5 separate regions of the Homo sapiens genome follow, and all the other regions are linked to region 5. Evidence: promoter capture Hi-C in 16 types of primary human blood cells and fetal thymus (Javierre and others, 2016). All regions are on one chromosome and are shown on one strand. The core of a region is centred on a gene start or on the middle of the fragment in contact, and the rest is flanking DNA. Distances in the headings are between cores, read along the strand shown.

The links. Contacts are between HindIII fragments. The CHiCAGO score rates a contact against its expected background, and 5 or more counts as called.
Region 1: a contact is called between a fragment that was not itself captured here and the fragment with the promoter of LINC01548 in region 5, in 4 of 17 cell types (M0 macrophages, M1 macrophages, M2 macrophages and 1 more). The highest score is 10.1, in M0 macrophages.
Region 2: a fragment that was not itself captured here is called in contact with the fragment with the promoter of LINC01548 in region 5 in 5 of 17 cell types (neutrophils, monocytes, M0 macrophages and 2 more); the score reaches 6.8 in neutrophils.
Region 3: a contact is called between a fragment that was not itself captured here and the fragment with the promoter of LINC01548 in region 5, in 1 of 17 cell types (neutrophils). The highest score is 6.5, in neutrophils.
Region 4: a fragment that was not itself captured here is called in contact with the fragment with the promoter of LINC01548 in region 5 in 1 of 17 cell types (neutrophils); the score reaches 5.4 in neutrophils.

Annotation. Positions count from the first base shown.
Region 1 is chr21:32,905,165-32,907,864 of GRCh38, forward strand. All of the region lies in intron 4 of LOC105377136 (a long non-coding RNA gene), which reads left to right. Among named protein-coding and RNA genes, the nearest start is that of LINC01690, 52 kb to the right of the region's middle. The HindIII fragment of the contact is 1,705 bases long and covers 401-2,105 here.
Region 2 is chr21:33,454,026-33,456,725 of GRCh38, forward strand. It overlaps TMEM50B (transmembrane protein 50B), which reads right to left. Exons shown (of 7, transcript NM_006134.7): 6 at 1,702-1,759. Among named protein-coding and RNA genes, the nearest start is that of TMEM50B, 25 kb to the right of the region's middle. The HindIII fragment of the contact is 4,983 bases long and covers 1-2,700 here.
Region 3 is chr21:33,428,992-33,431,691 of GRCh38, forward strand. The region is part of intron 4 of IFNGR2 (interferon gamma receptor 2); the gene reads left to right. Among named protein-coding and RNA genes, the nearest start is that of IFNGR2, 27 kb to the left of the region's middle. The HindIII fragment of the contact is 9,279 bases long and covers 1-2,700 here.
Region 4 is chr21:33,471,633-33,474,332 of GRCh38, forward strand. The region is part of intron 1 of TMEM50B (transmembrane protein 50B); the gene reads right to left. Among named protein-coding and RNA genes, the nearest start is that of TMEM50B, 7.0 kb to the right of the region's middle. The HindIII fragment of the contact is 7,894 bases long and covers 1-2,700 here.
Region 5 is chr21:33,168,853-33,171,552 of GRCh38, forward strand. It overlaps LINC01548 (long intergenic non-protein coding RNA 1548), which reads right to left and starts at 1,384. Exons shown (of 4, transcript NR_024102.1): 1 at 1,289-1,384; 2 at 844-981. RefSeq lists an enhancer at 596-665. The HindIII fragment of the contact is 7,514 bases long and covers 1-2,700 here.

The DNA.
Region 1 (2,700 bases), core at 3-2,502, 260 kb before region 5:
CTCTCTGACCTCCCAGCATCTTGTCTCCCACCTAGAACTATACCCGAGCCATCCTCAGGCCACTCCACTTTTTATTAAACCAGAAGTTTCTGGGTGATGTGGCCCTTTGGGTTAATCTGGGCATGAGTTCATTGCCACACTTCCTTTGCCCTAAAATATGTCACCTGATCAGAGGTGATAATATAGGATACTATGGCAATGATGGAGGAATTCTGCAAGTGCGGGAATAGTGGTACTGATCAAAGCATTATGAATAGGCATGTTAGTCCATTTTGTGTTGCTATAAAGGAATACTTGAGGCTGGGTAATTTATTTTTAAAAAGAGGTTTATTTGGCTTATGGTTTTGCAGACTGTACAAGAGGCATGGCACCAGCATCTGCTTCTGGTGAGGCCTCAGGAAGCTTTTACTCATGGTAGAAGGTGGAAAGTGAGCCAGTGTGTCACAGGCTGGGAAAGGGTGGGGGGGTGAGAGAGAGAGAGAGAGAGGGAGAGAGAGAATGATGCTAGGCTCTTTTAAACAATCAGATCTCACGTGAACTAAAAGAGCAAGAGTGCACTCCTTACCTCAGGGAGGGCACCAAACCATTCATGAGGATCTGCCTCGTGACCAAAACACGTCCCACTAGGCCCCACCTTCAACATTGAGATCACATTTTAACATGAGATTTGGAGGGGACAAACATCCAAACTATATCAATAGGGAAGGCAAATCTGTATCAGAGATATATCTATCTCTGTGAAGAATAAGTTCTACCACCTTCATGATGGAAGGGCCCTGTGGGGGTTACTTTCATGTGTCAGCTTGGCTGGGACATGGTGGCCAATTGTTTGGTCAAGCACCGGACTAGATGTTCCGGTGAGAAGATATTTTAGATACGACTGGTATTTAAATCCATGGACTTTATTAAAGCAGATTGTTCTCCGTGATGCATGTTGGCTTCATCCAGTCCACTGAAGGCCTTAAGAGCAAAGACTGAGGTTTCCTGAGGAAGAAGGAGTTTCCAGCCTGCTGCCCTATGGAATTCATACTCAATACTGCAGCATCAACTCTTACATAGGTTCAGATTTTGGACTTGCCAGTTTCCACAGTTTCGTGAGCCAATTCCTTAAAATAAATCTCTTTCTCTCTCTTCTATTGGTTAAGTTTCTCTGGAGAACTCCCATTAATACAGGGTTCAATATAATCAACTTGCTGGTATCCCTGGGAAATAGTAACAGCTTAGAGGCTCAGATACAGTCTCTGCTGTTGACAAATTGGAAACTCATCAATAGCTGTAGCTAAATCAGCCCTGGCGAGGAAAAGTCCATAGTGATGAACCCATGTATAAACCTCCACCCCTGCCATATGGCCACTTTGTATCTGAGCCCATTGAGTGAGCCACATGGTTAGTCAACCTCTACAGGACAGGTCAACTTAACCACCTCAATTATTCTGCTCAAGCTGCTGTAGCGAGATACCACTGACTGGTTAGCTTAAACCATAGACATTTAGTTTCTCAAAGTTCTGGAGGCTGGAAGTCCAAGATCAAGGTGTCAGCAAGGTTAATTTCTGGTGAGGACTCTATTCGTTACTTGCAGATGGCTACCTTCTTTGCTGTGTCCTCACTTATCCTCTTTTCTGTGTGTGCAGAGAAAGAGCTCTCTGGTGTCTTTTCCTTTTCTTATCAGGACACCAGTCCTACCAGATTAGGGCCACACTCTTATGACCTCATTTAACCTTAATTACCACCTTAAAGGCCCCATCTCTGAATATAGTCACATTGAAGAGTTAGGGCTTCAACATGTGAATTTGGGGGGCGGGGTTAGACACAATTCAGTCCATAACACCACCTGATTTTTGAGAACCTCCTCCACAGTGAATGCCCTGTAGTGAAGAAGGCATGAATATCCATGCCCATTCTAAGAGATCCATCCACATACTCCCAGACCTCTTTATCATCAATTTTCAAGTCTTGTTCCAAGTCACTGACTGGCTAACCAATCCGTCAGTCACTCACCATGGATTGGACTGGATCTACACCTCTGGCCACCTTTCCTGATTGCTTCCTGGATCTGCATAGATATCAGCACCTCATCCTCAGCCTTCCTCACCGCCTGATTTTCAAGCTTTCTGGCCTAGGCTATGACCTCAGCTCAGATGTTGAATTTAAGTGTAAGCTTGCAGAGCAAAAGAAACTAATGAGGATTCCCTGAGTAACAATGAGTGAATAGGCAGGAGCCCAGTGGTGGGCTTGCAGATGGCTACCTTCTTTGCTGCGTCCTCACTTAGCCCCCATTCCCCAAAGCATGTGCCATAGGACCATCAGAAGCCAGCTGGCTCCCAAATGTTTAGAATCACTATAGGATCAAAGTCTCTTTACACTTTGCCCTCAACTTGAACTTTATCTCATGCCAGCACTGTTCATAATTTGAGTAATAACACATCACAGTGTGCCACGGATTACCTGTGTGCCATTTCCCCTTGGCAAGATAGGTATTACGGGGCAATGCAAATAGATGAGCAACTAGTGGCTTGCTGGTAAGTGTTGAACAACTGATTCTTAAAAAGAAAGGAGGAAGGTGAGGAAGGTTAGAAAGGAAAGGAGGGAGAAAGGTAGGGAGGGGAGAAACAAAGAAAGAAACAAAAAAGAGAAAAGAAAGAAGCCCTCATTGGTAGCATTTGCAAATTTCTATGGTATAAATATTCCCTACTATGGCTG
Region 2 (2,700 bases), core at 183-2,682, 290 kb after region 5:
CTGGGAGGCAGAGGTTGCATTGAGCTGAGATTGCACCACTGCACATCAGCCTGGGCAACAGAGCGAGAATCCAGCTCAAAAAAAAAAAAAAAAAAGACATTCATTCTAAAAAGCATAGAATGGACTTCATTTTGGGGATATTTTAGAAGACTGCCCCTAAAAAATACTTTTAATATTGGTTTATTTTTCCACTTACTTTAACTTTTCTTAAAAGGGCATTCAGAAAACAGAATTTCCCAACAGGTTTTGTATATAATATGCATACTATGTATTAATTATTATTATTATTTTGATATGGAGTCTTGCTCTGTCACCCAAGCTGAAATGCAGTGGCACTATCTCGACTCACTCCAACCCCCGTGTCTCCTGGGTTCAAGTGGTTCTCCTGCCTCAGCCTTCCGAGTAGCTGGGATTACAGGCACACACCACCATGCCCGACTAATGTTTGTATTTTTATTAGAGATGGGGTTTCACCATGTTGGCCAGGCTGGTCTCGAACCCCTGACCTCAGATGATCCACCCACTTCAGCCTCCCAAAGTGCTGGGATTACAGACATGAGCCACCACACCTGGCTGGCCACTAGGTATTAATTCTGGTTTTTCCTTTTTTCTTCATAAAGGTACTTTACCTGTTGTTGTTAATTTTTTTTTTCCCGAAAGGCTAGTCAAGTGAAACAATGGGTCTGATAGGGTTTTTTAATAAGACACAGGCTATGGAAGCAGCAGTCTGGATTCAAATCCAGGCTTCTCATTTACTAGCTAGGCATCCTAAAGCAAGCCCTAAACTTTATTTCCTCATCTATAAAATGGGAATAACACTGGGTGTGGTGGCTATAATCCCAGCACTTTGGGAGGCCGAGGCAGGCAAATTGTCTGAGCTCAGGAGTTCGAGACCACTCTGGGCAATATGGTGAAACCTCGTCTCTACTAAAATACAAAAAATTAGCTGGGTGTGGTGGTGTGCACCTGTAGTCCCACCTACTCGGGAGGCTGAGGCATGGGAATCGCCTGAGTCCCGAGGCGGAGGCTGCAGTGAGCCGAGATTGTTCCACTGCACTAAGGCAGCTTGGGCTACAGGGTGAGACTCCCTCGCAAAAAATAAATAAATAAATAAAAATAAAAATAAATAAAATGGGAATAACACCTGACATATATTTAAAATAATTAAATGCATTATTTTATTTTATTTTGGTCTCACTCTATTGCCCAGGCTGGAGTACAGTGGTGCAGCCTTGCCTCACTGCAGCCTCAACCTCCTCGGCTCAAGCAATCCTCCCACCTCAGCCTCTTGAGTAGCTGGCACTGTACACCACCACAACCAGATAATTTTTATATTTTTTTATAGAGACAGGGTTTTGCCATGTTGCCCAGGCTGGTCTTAAACTCCTAGACTTAAGCAATCCACCCACTTCAGCCTCCCAAAGTGCTGGGATTACAGGCATGAGCCACAGCACTTGGCCTAAATGTGAATTCAAAGGGTAAAATATATAAAGGATCCAGCTAAAGTCTTGATACACAGCAAGACCTCTAGTTAAAAGGCCTCTCTGCTCTTATGTAACAGTGGAATTCTCACCTTTTAAAAGAAGTTCTATCATTGTAACCAATCCATGGGATTTATATGTGTTCCATATATATGCTGCCTTAATTAAGTTGACATTTCTGTAAATGTTACAGGCGTGGTTAAAAAATAAGGCAACTTACCTAAAAAATATAAGTGCATTTTGAAAAAACACAGCTAGTCCCGGATAAACATCAGTATCTACATACACAAAGTAAAACAGATTAGACGGTTATATAGGCAAACGGCAGTAATAAAGTATCAGTGCCATTCATAATGATACATTTTGTATATTACAACATACTGCTATTATTCATTAACTGTAAGACATCTATAATGAAACTGAAAGAAGAAAATGCCAATTTAATTCCCCCAAAGCAAAGGACTGCTCTTACTCTGGATAAAAGTCAATGAACTTACAAAGTTTTCTTTTAGTCAAAGTAATTGCTGGTTCTAGCTACATCAAAACTGCTGAGGAAGCAGTAACTTGCTCCTTTGCCTCCTATGGCCAACACTGAAATGCAAAATCGTAAAAACATACAAAATAAATTCTTGACTTTTAAACAGTCTGTTAATTTATTTTCTTTCATGAATTCAAGAGGTTTTTTGTGTTTGTTTTTAAAGAAATGGGGCCTCACTATATTGCCCAGACTGGAGTGCAGCAGCTACTGACAGGCACAATCATAGCAAACTACAGCCCAAACTCCTGGGCTCAAGTGATCCTCCTGCCTCAGCGTCCCAAGTGGATGGGACTACAGGCACACACCACAATGCCTGGCTCTCAATCCAGGAGTTTTATCATGCAAATATGTCAGATATAAATAACACAGTTAGAATTTATCATTCTCTTTCACTGAATCTATCCTGGAGGAAATGGTTACTATCTTTATAGGAAAAGAAAAGAAACAAAATGGAAACTACTTAAATTTTTGTGGATTATTAACTTTTGTAAAACTACAAATGTTGATTTAAAAAATACTGGAGAAGATGAAGAAACTGGTTCAATTCTGAGCTCTTGATATCATAGCAAACAATACAGCAGCATGGTTAAGAGCTCCAAGTTTGAGCCAGACCCAGGTTTGAATCCTATCTATACCAATGACTAACTGTATGACCTTGGGCAAATTATTTAACCTCAGCAT
Region 3 (2,700 bases), core at 196-2,695, 260 kb after region 5:
GCAGCAAGCTCTAATGAAGAGCACACAGAACAGGCTTCCACTGCCTGGGACCCGCTTAGCACCATGTCACTTAGCCTCTCTGGGCTGCAGCTTCCTCGTGTATAAAATGAAACAACTGAGCTATAAGCTGGAGCCTGTGAAGAGGAGCAGCCGTGAGGGCCCCCAAGTCCCTTTCCTCCATTTGACCAGAGCATCTGTACTTGGCTTCCATGATCAAAAGGTTCAAGGATGAAAATGACTCTGAAAGCCACCAATGTGATCTTTGTTCCAGCTGTGAGTCTGTGTGTTAGGGTCCCCAAGACCCACCCTAGATCGCTCAAAGGACTCCCAGGACTCAGCACAGAGTCACACTCTGATTTCGTTTTGAGACAGAATTTCACTCTGTCTCCCAGGGTAGAGTGCAGTGCCACAATCTCGGCTCACGGGTTCAAGAGATTTTCCTGTCTCAGCCTCCACATCTGTGCCTGGCCCATACTCTGATTTTTTATAGCAAAAGGATGCAAAGCAAAATCGGCAAAGGGAAGAGGCACATGGAGGAAAGTCCGCAGGTGTCCAGGGGTAGGCTTCCAGGAGCCCTTCCTGAGCTGAGTCACGCAGGATACACTTCATTGCTCCACCAGCAAGCTGTGACTGCACATGTGAACTGTTGTCTGCCAGGGAGGCTTATGAGAGACCCAGCGCCCAGGGCTTTTTCTGGGGGCTGGCCACATACGCACCCTCTGTGTAGCGTATGCCAAAATTCCGACTCCCAGAAGGAAAACAGATGTTCCTCATAAAGAAAACACATTGTGCAAACAGTGTAGGGACGGTAAGCCACCTTACCAGTTTGGGAATGGGAGGGATAAACTTGAAATCCAAATTCCCAGGCTGGGCGCGGTGGCTTACGCCTGTAATCCCAGCACTTTGGGAGGCCGAGGCAGGCAGATCACTTGAGGTCAGGGGTTCGAGACAGGCCTGGCTAGCATGGTGAAAACCCATCTCTACTAAAAATACAAAAATTAGCCAGGCGTGGTGGTGGGCACCTGTGATCCCAGTTACTCAGGAGGCTGAGGCAGGAGAATTGCTTGAACCTGGGAGGCAGAGGTTGCAGTGAGTCGAGATCACACTACTGCACTCCAGCCTGGGCAACGGAGCAAGACTCCGTCTCAAAAAACAAACAAACAAAAAACGCACACAAATTCCCAGATGTCAGCTAAGGGTTGACCTGGAAATCAGGCCCTTCAAAGGGCATTAGTGTTAGGCCTGTTACGTTAGCTCTTCTGCAGTCTGTGACTCTAAATTTTAGGAATTCCAATTGAATGCTGAAATAAACCCAAAGGGAATTTTTGTCCTTAAAATCGTGTCTTCCTCTGCCCTGGCAGTCCAACACCATTAAACAGAAGAAAAGAAAATGTAAAACCATCAAGTAATACTATTATTCATAGATCATACAATTACTTTTATATTTTTATTTTTTAATTTTAATTTTTCAGAGACAATTTCACTCTGTCACCCAGGCTGGAGTGCAGTGGTGCAGTCATAGCTCACTGTAGCCTCCAATTCACAGGCTCAAGCCATCCTCCCACTTTGGCCTTCCGAGTAGCTGGGACTTATAGGCATGCACCACCATGACCAGCTTATTTTTTTATTATTATTTTCTGTAGAGACGGAGGGAGGGGGTCTCACTATGTTACCCAAGCTCAAACTCCTGGACTCAAGTGATCCTCCCACCTCAGCCTCCCAAAGTGCTGGAATTACAGGCATGAGCCACCATGCCTGGCCTATTTTTGTATTTTAAAAAATAACAACATGTTCTGTATTTGAATAATCTGCCTTTTTTCAGTTAACAATTTAGCAGCCTTGTCTTCCCATGTTTTCAAGCATATGTTATACCACCATTTCATGTGGCTGTAGTGGATTATATTGTATCTCAAAATTAGAAAACAGTTCTTTGCAAGAAACCCTATACTGCCATAATAGGGTATCGCTGTTTTCCACTTTGGTATGGGACAATGACAGCCTTGCCAGGACAACAGGAGCCATTGCCTGGAAGACCAGGTGGGGAGGCAGCAAGGCCTGCTCAAGGCAGCAGAGGGATGCGCAGAGGAGACACAGAACCTTCCTAGAGTCTAGGGTCCAGTTGTCTCCTGATGACATAAATCCTTAAGGTCATTTTAGCTGAAACTATAGGAGGCTCAAGCACATTTCGGTCAAACTAGAAGCAGGTTGGGAATGAAAGGAACATTATTTCCCAGAATAATTTTTTCTCTGTTGACTAACTTGAGGTATCTAGATTAACCGTGAGATACAAAATGTTGGCCAGGCGCGGTGGCTCACGCCTATAATCCCAGCACTTTGGGAGGCCGAGGCAGGTGGATCACCTGAGATCAGGAGCTCGAGACCAGCCTGGGCAACATGGTGAAACCCTGTTTCTACTAAAAATACAAAAATGAGCCAGACATGATGGTGGGTGTCTATAATCCCAACTACTCAGGAGTTGGAGGCAGGAGAATTGCTTGAACCTGGGAGGCGGAGGTTGCAGTGAGCCGAGGTCGCACCATTGCGGTCCAGCCTGGTGACAGAGCGAAACTCCATCTCAAAAAAAAAAAGAAATACAAAATGTTTGTTTTGAGATGGAGTCTTGCTCTTCATCCAGGCTGGCGCAATCTCAGCTCACTGCACCCTCTGCCTCCTGGTCCAAGTGATTCTCCTCCCTCAGCC
Region 4 (2,700 bases), core at 68-2,567, 300 kb after region 5:
GAAGGTCGAGGCAGGAAGATTGCTTGAGGCCAGGACTTCAAGCCCAGCCCAGGCAACATAGCAAGACCCTGTCTCTAAAAAATAAATTAAAATGTAAAAAGATTCAAATGAAAATTCTAGGGGCTGGGCGCAGTGGCTCATGCCTGTAATCCCAGCACTTTGGGAGGCCGAGGCAGGCGGATCACGAGGTCAGGAGATCGAGACCATCCTGACTAACATGGTGAAACCCCGTCTCTACTAAAAATACAAAAAATTAGCCAGGCATGGTGGCAGGCGCCTGTAGTCCCAGCTACTCAGGAGGCTGAGGCAGAATGGCGAGAACCCGGGAGGTAGAGCTTGCAGTGAGCCGAGATGGCACCACTGCACTCCAGCCTGGGCAACAGAGCGAGACTCCCCTAAAAAAAAAAAAAAAGAAAGAAAGAAAATTCTAGAACTGCAAATTACAATGTTTGAATTTAAAAATTAAATGGGCCGGGCAGGATGGCTCACACATGTAATCCCAGCACTTTGGGAGGCCAAGGCGGGGGGATCACGAGGTCAAGAGATCGAGACCATCCTGGCCAACATGGTGAAACCCCGTCTCCACTAAAAATACAAAAACTTAGCTGGGCATGGTAGCAGGCACCTGTAATCCTAGCTACTCAGGAGGCTAAGGCAGTAGAATTGCCTGAACCCAGGAGGCGGAGGTTGCAGTGAGCCGAGATTGCACCACTGCACTCCAGTCAGGCAACAGAGCAAGATTCCATCTAAAAAATAAATAAATAAATAATTAACTAAATGAACTTAATCGCAGATTAGATACAGTAGAAGAAAAGGACAGTAAACTTAAACATCAAAAGAAATTATCCAATTTAGAGACCTGAGGAACAATACTAAGTGGTCTAAAATATATGTAATTAAAGTTCCCAGAAGAAGAAAAGACAGAATAAGAAATAAAAAAATTTTGAAAAAAATAATAGATGGGCTGGGCACGGTGGCTCACACCTGCAATCCCAGCACTTTGGGAGGCTGAGGCGGGTGGATCACCTGAGGTCAGGAGTTCGAGACCAGCCTGGCCAACATGGTGAAACCCCGTCACTACTAAAAATACAAAACTGGGTGTGATGGCACATGCCTGTAATCCCAGCTACTTGGGAGGCTGAGGCAGGAGGATCACTTGAACCTGGGAGGCGGAGGTTGCAGTGAGCCAAGATCACACCATTCATTGCATTTCAGCCTGGGAAACAAGAACAAAACTCCATCTCAAAAAAAAAAAAGAATAAATGAAAATTTCTCAAATTTGGTGAAAAATATTAACTTATAAATCCAAAAAGCTCAGCAAACTCCAAGGAGGATAAATACAAAGAAAACATCATAATCAAACTGCTGAAAACCAGAGATACAGAGAAACTCTTGAAACAGTCTTATGGGGAAAAAAATCAATACAACATATACAGAGACAGAACAATAGGAATGATGGCTCACTTCTAACCAGAACAAAGGATACTAGAAGACACAGGAATGACACTGTTAATAACGCTTTAAGACAAAAAAAATCAGGCCAGGTGTGGTGGCTCATGCCTGTAATCCCAACACTTTGGAGACTGAGGTGGGCAGACTGCTTTGAGGCCAGGAGTTCAAGACCAGCCTGGGCAACATGGAGAAACCCCATCTCTAATAAAAATACAAAAATTATCTGGGCATGGTGGCCCTTACCTGTAGACCCAGCTACTCAGGAGGCTGAGGCACAGGAATCACTTGAACCCAGGAGCTGGAGGTTGCAGTGAGCTGAGATCGCACCACTGCACTCCAGCCTGGGCAAAAAAGTGAGACTCTGTCTCGGAAGAAAAAAAAAAAAAAAAAAAAACTCAATCCCAAATTCTATACCCAGCAAAAATATTCTCCAAAAATGAGGATAGCCAAGCATGGTGGTGTGCACTTGTAGTCTCAGCTACTCAGGAGGCTGAGATGCAAGGATCACTTGTGCCCAGAAGTTCGAGGTTACAGTGAGCTATGACAGGTGACACAGTGAGACCTTGTCTCAAAAAAAAAAAAAAACAAGAAGGTGACAGCAATTCTACTCCTATCTAACTACCCAAGAGAAATGAAAATATATCTTCACAATAACTTGTTCATAGCAGCATTATTCGTAATTGCCACGGAGTGGAAGCAACCAAACATACATCAACGAATGGATAAATAAAACATAGCACATCCATACAACGAAATACAAATTCAGCAACAAAAAGGAAAGAGGTTCCTACTGATAGATGCTACATGAACGAACCTCAACAACTGACTAAGTAAAAGACAGAAGACCATATATTGTGTGATTCCATTTACAAGAAACATCCAGAATAGGCAAATCTATAGACATAAAGCGGATTAGTGGCTGTCTAGGGATGGGGAGAAGAAAGATACAAAGTGACTGCAAAAGGCTACAAGATTCTAAAACTAGATTGTGGCAATGACTGCACAGCTCCGTAAATACTAAAAATCATTCGACTGTACACTTAAAACAGGTGAATGTTACAGTATATATACTGTATCTCAACAAAGCTGTGTTTTTTGGGGGGCAGGGGAGGGGGTTGTTGTTGTTTTTTTTAAGAGAGACAGGGTTTCACCCAGTTGTCCAAGCTGGTCTTAAACTCCTGAACTCAAGCGATCTGCCTGCCTCAGCCTCCCAAAATGCTGAGATTACAGGTGTGCACCACCATTCCC
Region 5 (2,700 bases), core at 134-2,633:
TACCTCCATGGGCTGCTGGGACTGGATCCCCTGGAGACCCCCTGAGGAAGCGTGTGAAAGATGCCTCAGAATTGTCCACCCAAGACATGGATGGAAGACAGATGAGCTCATCAGCTCCTGCCCCTATTGGTCAAAGTTTTCCCCCAAGGAAAGCCACCTCCCTTGAGCTTCCAAGTTTACACACAAGCCAGTATAGCTAAGCAAGTCCCCGCAGGCTTGGACAGAAAGCCTGCCACAGCAGATACCCACTGCCACAGCTGTCAGGTGACAGCTTGTTGCGGTTGTCAGAGCAACGCCCAGGAGCAAAAAAGGCGAGCCAGGTCAGGCGCAGTGGCAAACTCCTGCAATCCCAGCAATTTGGGAAGCCAAGGCAGGAGGATTGTTTGAGGCCAGGAGTTCAAGACCAGCTTGGGCAAGAAAGAGACCCCTGTCTCTACAAAACATAAAAAATTAGCCAGGCATGGTGGTGCGTGCCTGTGGTCCCAGCTACTCAGGAGGCTGAGGCAGGAGGATAGCTTGAGCCCAGGAGGTCAAGGCTGCAGTGAGCCATGGTCGTGCCAGCACACCCTAGCCTGAGTGATAGAGCGAGACCCTGTCTCTAAAAACTTAAAGAAAAAAACGGTGAGCCAAGAGCATGTGAAAGGAGCGTGAAAGGAGCATGAAAGGGAGGTGGGCAGAAGAAGCTGGTTGGATAGAGGAAGTGAAAGGAAGAGGCGCATTTGTACAGACAGCCGCCCTTCTGGACCGAGTAACCACGTGGAGAGTGGTTCTCCATCCACCCACATAGGACGCACAAGGAAAAGAAGAGGTTCCCAAAGATAAGGGATTTCATGGGGAAAATACCTCATCGAATGGACTGCGACCCTCAAGGGAAGATGTTCCATAAGCTCGGCGCGAGTCAGGCAGTAGGGAGAGGTCTTGAGATCACAGGTGAAGTGAAGGCTCCCAGGAAGGGTGATTGCAGGGCGAGGGCCTCCTGACCTGGAGACAGGGCCCCAAGGAACAGTCATACGAAGAGGGCAGAGGACAAATGAAGAGGGAGTGGACAGAAAGAGAAATGGGAGGAGAGCCATGTGCCAGGAGCCAAGTGATTTAAATGCAGGTGTAGTGCCCTGGAGAGTTCCATGTGTAAGAACAAGTAAATCATTGTTGCTTACCTCTCCCTTGAAAAAAAAAAAATACCCTGCTTCTTGTCCTAAGTTCCCAGGCTCTCTTTTTGCCTACTCCCTCCCCAGTTGCTGAGTCCAGTCAACCCTCCTGCTACAGTATCCCCTATAGCGCCATTCACCTGCCCTCCTCTGCTCCCTTGGCCAACATCTAGGTTCAGAACCTCATTGTCTCTCTTCTGGTCTGTCCTGCCTCCTCCTCCCTCTGCTGCTGTCCATCCAGGTGGATTTTCCTAAAGGGAAAAGGTGCACTTGAGGGCAAATTTCTCTTGGCCATGCACTTAGGAGGGGGATTTCTGGGTAAAGGGGTAAGTTCACTGCTTTTCTAATTCTCTACTTTTTCCTTATCCTCACCCATAAATCTTACAACCCCCTTGAAGTGCAATAACTTTATTTCTAGGACCTCTCAGAGCCTTTGCCTGTGCTGTTCCCACTTGCCGGGAATGCCTTTCCCTTCATCCCCAATAGTTCAAGCCCCACCTTTTCCTGAGCCCAGCTCAGATGCCACCCCCTCATCCAGGAAGGCCTCCTTGATACCTCCCTACCAGAATTAATCTCTCCTTCTCTTGTGGTCTGAAGACTCTTGGCTTTCTCCCCTGTCCTATTTTTGCTTGTTATCACTGACATTGCTTTACACGCTTTTTCTCCTCTGCTGGGAGCAAGGGCAGTTTCTATGTCACAATGCCCCACTATGCCCATTAAGCTACAGTGCACATGGTACCCATCCCGAGACCAACATTCTTTTTACACTTCTGTGCTTCTGACCTAGGAAAGTCTTACTTTTCATAGAGTGTCATAGCTGAGTTGGAAGCTCTTTTCTTAGAGCCTCTTAAAATAATGGCGTGCCTTATAGTCAATGATCTCTTACATTCCATTAAATACAGTAGGAGATGTTCAACCAATATTTGCTAAATTGGAGGAGTTAAAGTCATTTTGAGTAGGAGAGGGAATCTAGACCCACTATTTGGATTAGTACAGATTTTAGTGCAACTCAGGGCTTCTGCAGAGCCCCTCCAGCTTTCACCTGTCCACTTAGTTGATGATGAGCACGCCTGCGAACTCTTCACACTTTCCAAACCCACCAAGGCAGCTTCTCCCGTAAGGACATGTTTCTTACCTTCAAGACCCCTGTTGCCTCCAGCAGCAATCTCAGTAATGACGTCTACTTCTGTTTCCTGCTTCCTTCTCCCTGACTCCTGCTTCCTGGAGTCCCCTCAGATAAACCTCCTGTGCCCAAGACCTTGTCAGGGTCTGCATTTACGGGAACCCAACTAAAATTCCAGGACCACCATATAAAGGTCCCTTTGTCGGGGGCTGGGCCTGCTCTGGATACGGTAGGGAAGTGGCTCCAGGGTCTGCGGCCAGCGAGGAGAGGGTCCGGCAGTCACCAGTGGGAGCTGTTTCCTCCCGTATTCCTCCCACCTGTCCCTACCTGTCCTGCTGGCGGGGTAAAGAGTGGGATTTACCTCGTGACAGCTGCCTTACAGCCCCATGAAAAGGCACTTTGGGCTGCGGTTGGGGGGAGCGCATCTCC